2 separate regions of the Homo sapiens genome follow, and region 2 is linked to region 1. The links are contacts of gene promoters, found by promoter capture Hi-C in human tissues and cell types (Jung and others, 2019). All regions are on one chromosome and are shown on one strand. The core of a region is centred on a gene start or on the middle of the fragment in contact, and the rest is flanking DNA. Distances in the headings are between cores, read along the strand shown. Region 1 holds the start of HEATR5B (HEAT repeat containing 5B). Region 2 has its middle 24 kb from the start of HNRNPLL.

Region 1 (2,722 bases), core at 109-2,608:
TGGGGATAATTTGTTATGTAGCAAAAGTTATCAGGAAGTAGAACCTTATCAGGCACCTGGGAGCCCTCTTTGTCCCCTATCCAGTTGCAACTCTCTTTTGGTTCTAAGAATAGTCACTATTCTGTTTTTTATGGCAATCATTTCCTTCATTTTCTCGATAGTTTTGTCATCCACGTGTGCATCTTTAAACATTACAGTTTAGTTTACCTATTTTTATTATAAGTTAAAAACGTGCACTATTATATACAGCATTTATGGTAATTCACCCGCTTCCTCTAAACCTCAGATTCTTCATTGGTAATAACAGCATTTTTACACATAATGGTTTAACACTTACCCAGTATATCACACATTTTTATCACATTTAACCACCACTAACAACTCTACAAGGTAGGAAGAGTTTTTCCTGTTGGAGAAATTAAGGTTCAGTATGGCTAAATGACTATTTCAAAACCACAAAGAATCCGGGTCATAGTGCCTTGCAAATAGGATTACATTGTTTTTAAGAGACCTACTTAACTTTAAAGTGCCAGGCACATCTGAATGGGGTTACAGGTTGCTTTTAAAGCTCTCTTTCTATTGGTAAAATATACTTTAGCATTATCCATTTCCATCAAAGATAAGCATAAACTTCACAAGGCGATACCCTGGCAGAGATGATGGAGGCTCGTACCAGAGTGATAGCAATGCAAGTGGTCGCATTTGGGGTACACTTGAAGGTAGAGCTTACAGGATTTGCTGATGTTGTAGGTAGTACGTAAAGAACGATGTCAAGATAACGCTAAGTTTTTGGCCTGAATACATGGAAGAACGGAGTTAACGTTTTTTGAGAGTGGGAAGACTGTAGGAGTAGGTTTGTTTTTGTTTTTTTAGGGGGCGTAGTCGGGAAACAGACATATTGAGAGTCCCATTACATATACAAGTGGAGAAATGGACCTACAGTATAAATGTGACAAGAAACGTCCCACTCTCAATACTACGCTCAGGAACCGCTGATCCCTTCCCTCACGCGTTCCTCCTGGCTGCAAGCGTCCCACAGACGCAACCACCCACGGATGGAAAAGTGGCTGACGGTGTGATACGGTAGTCATGGCCAGCGCACTCTGCCTTTTATCATTCTACCGGTTGTCCCCAGACCCTTACCTGACAGCTCTCTTACCTGACAGCTCTCTGCTCGCCCCGGTTCAGCGCCGTAGAGCGCGCGCTGCGCATGCGCCCACCGACCAGCGTCGGACTTCCGGACCTCGGCTCCCACCAGTTTCCTAGTGCAGACTCTATTGGAAATTCGCGGCGGGTGGGGATAGGAGGACGTGGTGACTGCGCTTGCGCAAGACCAGCCCTCCGCGCAAGCGCTCTTCCCTTGTTTCCTGCAGGTAGGAGTGCGGGAGGTGGGGCATCCGGGTCTCTTGGTGGCTGCTTCTACCCCCGGAGCTCAGCTGATCTTCCCTTCCAGACTACGAGGTGAGGTCGCCGAAGCATGCATGTTGACACGCACGGACTCCTGTCCGACGTACATTTTCAGACGGGTGGGGAAGACATTTGAGTTCGTAATGAACATTTTCCCTTTTCTGGCTCCGTGCTTAGTTCCGAGCTGCCGCCTCGTGCTATTGACAGCCTGCGGAACCCCACGGAGGCTTGCGGCGGCCTCTTGGTGTTTCCCCGGGTCCGCCGCTTGCGGTTCTTGGAGTAGCCAGGTGAAGCCAGACCCCGAGCGCGCGAGGCTTCTCGGGTGCATTCCGGACCGCCTGGTGTTGTCACTGACGCTTCGGCCGCCGGGCCTGGCCGCCCCACCCATCCGCGTAGGAAGAGTCTTGGAGACCTGCAGTTCGGGATGTCTGTGCTGGGTGTTTTGACCTCAGTCCCTCTGGCCAGGTGCAGCGCGGGAGGGTAAAGGTGCTATGTACCGAACCCTGGACGAGAAAAAGAGGAGGATGGTTGTCAAGCCCGGCTGGGGTGTTTGATCTTAGTGCTTCAGTTTTTTCATTTATAGAACGGGTAAATGACATATGTGTTGCTGGACATATTTCTTCTGGAATAATGCCTTTTTTGGCAATAATTTCTTTTAATTTTCTTTTCACTCCATGAGTCACTCTTCCTTACCAAGTAGTTTTCTTCTGTTTTTGTTTGTATTTTTGTCATTTAAAAGTATGTTCTCAGGTTTTGCCTCAAAGAAGTTGAGTTTTTCCCCAAATGAAATGAGTAGTCCTACTTTTCTTAGTGAGTATATTCCATTAAGCTTGACTTTTAACATTAAAAAATACTTACAAGTATTTTTTACTCTGTTAAATTTAAGGTGTGAATTTCAAACTTCCGTAATGGAGTTAGCCCACAGTTTATTGCTAAATGAAGAAGCTTTGGCTCAAATCACCGAAGCAAAAAGACCAGTTTTCATCTTTGAATGGTTGCGATTTCTTGATAAAGTCTTGGTTGCTGCCAACAAGGTATGGTATTGCTCTTTTTTCCCAGTTGCATTAACGTGAAGAGATTATGTGGTCATGATTCTTAAGAAAACACATGTTATGTTTTGGAAGGTTTATGGGTCACTTATGGAACTTGAGAGTATTACACGAATGGGAAATTTAGTGGCAAAACTCAAACCTCGTTTAAATCCAGCTCATTGCCTATCTTCTTTATGTTTGTACCTGGGCAGCTCATTGTAACTGGAGAAAAACATGGCTATATGACTGGTGTCACTTTAAATTTATCATCGTCACCCGTTGCA
Region 2 (2,722 bases), core at 99-2,598, 1.5 Mb before region 1:
ATACCAAGAGTATACTTGGCTGGGTAGGATTAATGAGTTAATATGTATAAAGTGTTTAACGAACTGCTTGGCACATGGTGTGTTCTTAATATGTCAAATATCATTATTATTACTTAAATTTTTTCCAGTTAGGCTGTCACTGAGTACAGAACACAGTGATATCAACAAGAATTATAGAGCACTGCTATAACATTACTTGACACAGAGCTTCAGATACACTCTGGCCATATCATCCTCTAAAATAAAGATCTATTTTCCCTAAGTTCTTTCCTGAAAGTCTCAGATCACTGGAGAGGCTGGAGTTGGGGTTGGGAACAGTGGAGGGGGAAGGTGATGAGGAGAAATGGTGGAAGTATCTCTCTGGAGGGGCTGCTGCTGACATTACAGGGTCCCCCAATAATAAAGCTGGTTCACCATCTAATTGTCCTGCAGAAAAGCCCTTTAGGCAACACACCTTGCCAATGCACCCGGAGCTTCCAAAGAGCCTTTTTAGGAGGCACTCTTAAAAACTAATGATCAGCCAAGGATTCTGACATTTCAAGAAAACCTGCAACATGAAAGACACATACTGAAACAAACAGAGAAAAATGGAATTCAGATGTTAGAAGGCAGAGAGTTCTTGACCCTGGAAAGAGTTAAGTCGAGTTACAATCACTGTTTGTAAAGCTGTTTGATCTGCAATGTTAGCACTGCTATGGCCACAGTCTCATATCACTAAGGATTACATTCAACTGCAAGTAACCCACCACCAGACTATAGTGGCTTAAACAAATAGCCATTTATTATTGTGACAAAACAAGAAGTTGGAGGTAGCAGCTGCAGGAATTGGTTCAATATCCCAATTATGGCAGGAACGGCACCTTTGTGATTTTCTCCTTCGTTTTCTCACGGTCCAAGATGGTCATTGCAGTTTCAGGAATCATATCTTATTAAAGGCTGATGCAGTCCCCATGCCCTTCTTTATGAGTGGGGAATCCTATACAGAGTATAAGGGAGGCTGTTAATGGGAGTAGCTTAATGGCTGCCAAGGGCTCAGAGAAATCTTTCTTCATATTTGTAGAGCCCAGTTTCTCATCAGAGGACTCTTAGCTTAGATTGGTGTTAAATGCAAGTAGTCAGGTAATGATCATTGTGATGGTTAATATTGAGTGTCAACTTGATCGGATTGAAGGATGCAAAGTATTGTTCCTGGGTGTATCTGTGAGGGTGTTGCCAAAGGGGATTCACATTTGAGTCAGTGGACTGAGAAAGGCAGACCCAGCCTCAACCTAGGTGGGCACAATCTCATCAGCTGGCAGCATGGCCATAAAAAAAAGCAGGCAGAAGAATGTGGAAAGACTAGACTAGTTGAGTCTTCTGGCCTCCGTCTTTCTCCTGTGGTGGATACCTCCTGCCCTCAGACATCAGACTGCAAGTCTTTGAGGGCAGCTTTGGGACTCTTGGGCTTTAGACCACAGACTGCAGGCTGCACTGTTGGCTGCCCTACTTTTGAGGCTTTGGGACTCGGACTGGCCTCCTTGCTCCTCAGCTTGCAGACAGCCTATTGTGGGACCTCACCTTGTGATTGTGTGAGTCGATACCCCTTAATAAACTCCCGTTTATGTATACGTATATATATTAGTTCTGTCCCTGTAGGGAACCCTAATACACTCATTTATAAATTAGTAGATTGTGCCACTGCTGACACCTGCTTGCCTAACGAAGCTTCCTATCTAGTTAACTGACAGTGTGCCCTTGTGGGACTGTTATCACTGACATCAAAAGGATGTGGGGGGAGGGGAAAAATCCCACAGTGGGTCTTAAGAAGACAGTTCTACAAGCACATCACTTTTCAAAGGTTTAACACCATTTAAAAACCATTTCATGTTACATACAATATAGAAAACATCCTCAAATGGTTTAAAGATACGTTCCTGTGACTATGTAAAGCTGGCAGTCTTCTGTGGAACTCTATAGAGTTTTCTCAGATCCTCAGGAGATTAATTCAGAGATGAGCTAAGCTAACTTGGGAATCAGTCCCTGGAGCTGGGTTGTGGATGACAACAATTCCAGCTTTTTCTTTTAAACATAACAAAGCTCAAGCACCATTATATAATGGTAATGTAAATCAAAACCACTGGGGAAAAATCACCCATAATTCCACTACTTTAACAAATAAACCAGTTTCATTTTTCCATGTATCTTTAATGATGATTGACATATTTCTTTAAATGACAAATCACCCATCTAAATGCAAGCTGCTCTTGAGCTATGAGAGATGGTTACAGAGCATTTGGGGGTTAGGGCCACACAAGAGGTTTGATTCACTGTCTTTAAAACTCTTCTGACCCTTACAAAGTAGCAAATTTTAAAAATCGTAATTTGTGTACACATCTTGTCTGTTCTAGATTATAATCGCTCAGAAGACAAATGAGAATCATGGTTTACTCACAATTGCATTCCCTGAAATACCTAGTTCATAAAAGACATATGTACCTTGTCCATAAAACACAATTAATAAATATTTATTGAAAAAGTGAATGGGGGCAGAGCACCATGGCTCATGTGTGTAATCCTAGCACTTTGGGAAGCCAAGGTGGGTGGATCATCTGAGGTCAGGAGTTCGAGACCAGCCTGGCCAAGATGGTGAAACTCCATCTGTACTAAAAATACAAAAAATTAGCTGGGCGTGGTGGCATATGCCTGTAATCCCAACTACTCAGGAGGCTGAGGCAGGAGAATT

Evidence for each region. Contacts are between HindIII fragments. The study calls those that stand out against the background at their distance.
Region 2: a contact is called between a fragment that was not itself captured here and the fragment with the promoter of HEATR5B in region 1, in 1 of the 25 tissues and cell types used here (spleen).

The regions. Positions count from the first base shown.
Region 1 is chr2:37,083,008-37,085,729 of GRCh38, reverse strand. HEATR5B (HEAT repeat containing 5B) reads left to right here and starts at 1,358. Exons shown (of 36, transcript NM_019024.3): 1 at 1,358-1,461; 2 at 2,294-2,441. The coding sequence starts at 2,316. GPATCH11 (G-patch domain containing 11) reads right to left here and starts at 1,212. Exons shown (of 9, transcript NM_174931.4): 1 at 1,160-1,212. RefSeq lists enhancers at 1,121-1,280, 1,751-1,850. The HindIII fragment of the contact is 9,229 bases long and covers 1-2,722 here.
Region 2 is chr2:38,625,560-38,628,281 of GRCh38, reverse strand. No RefSeq gene overlaps it. Among named protein-coding and RNA genes, the nearest start is that of HNRNPLL, 24 kb to the right of the region's middle. The HindIII fragment of the contact is 3,443 bases long and covers 1-2,722 here.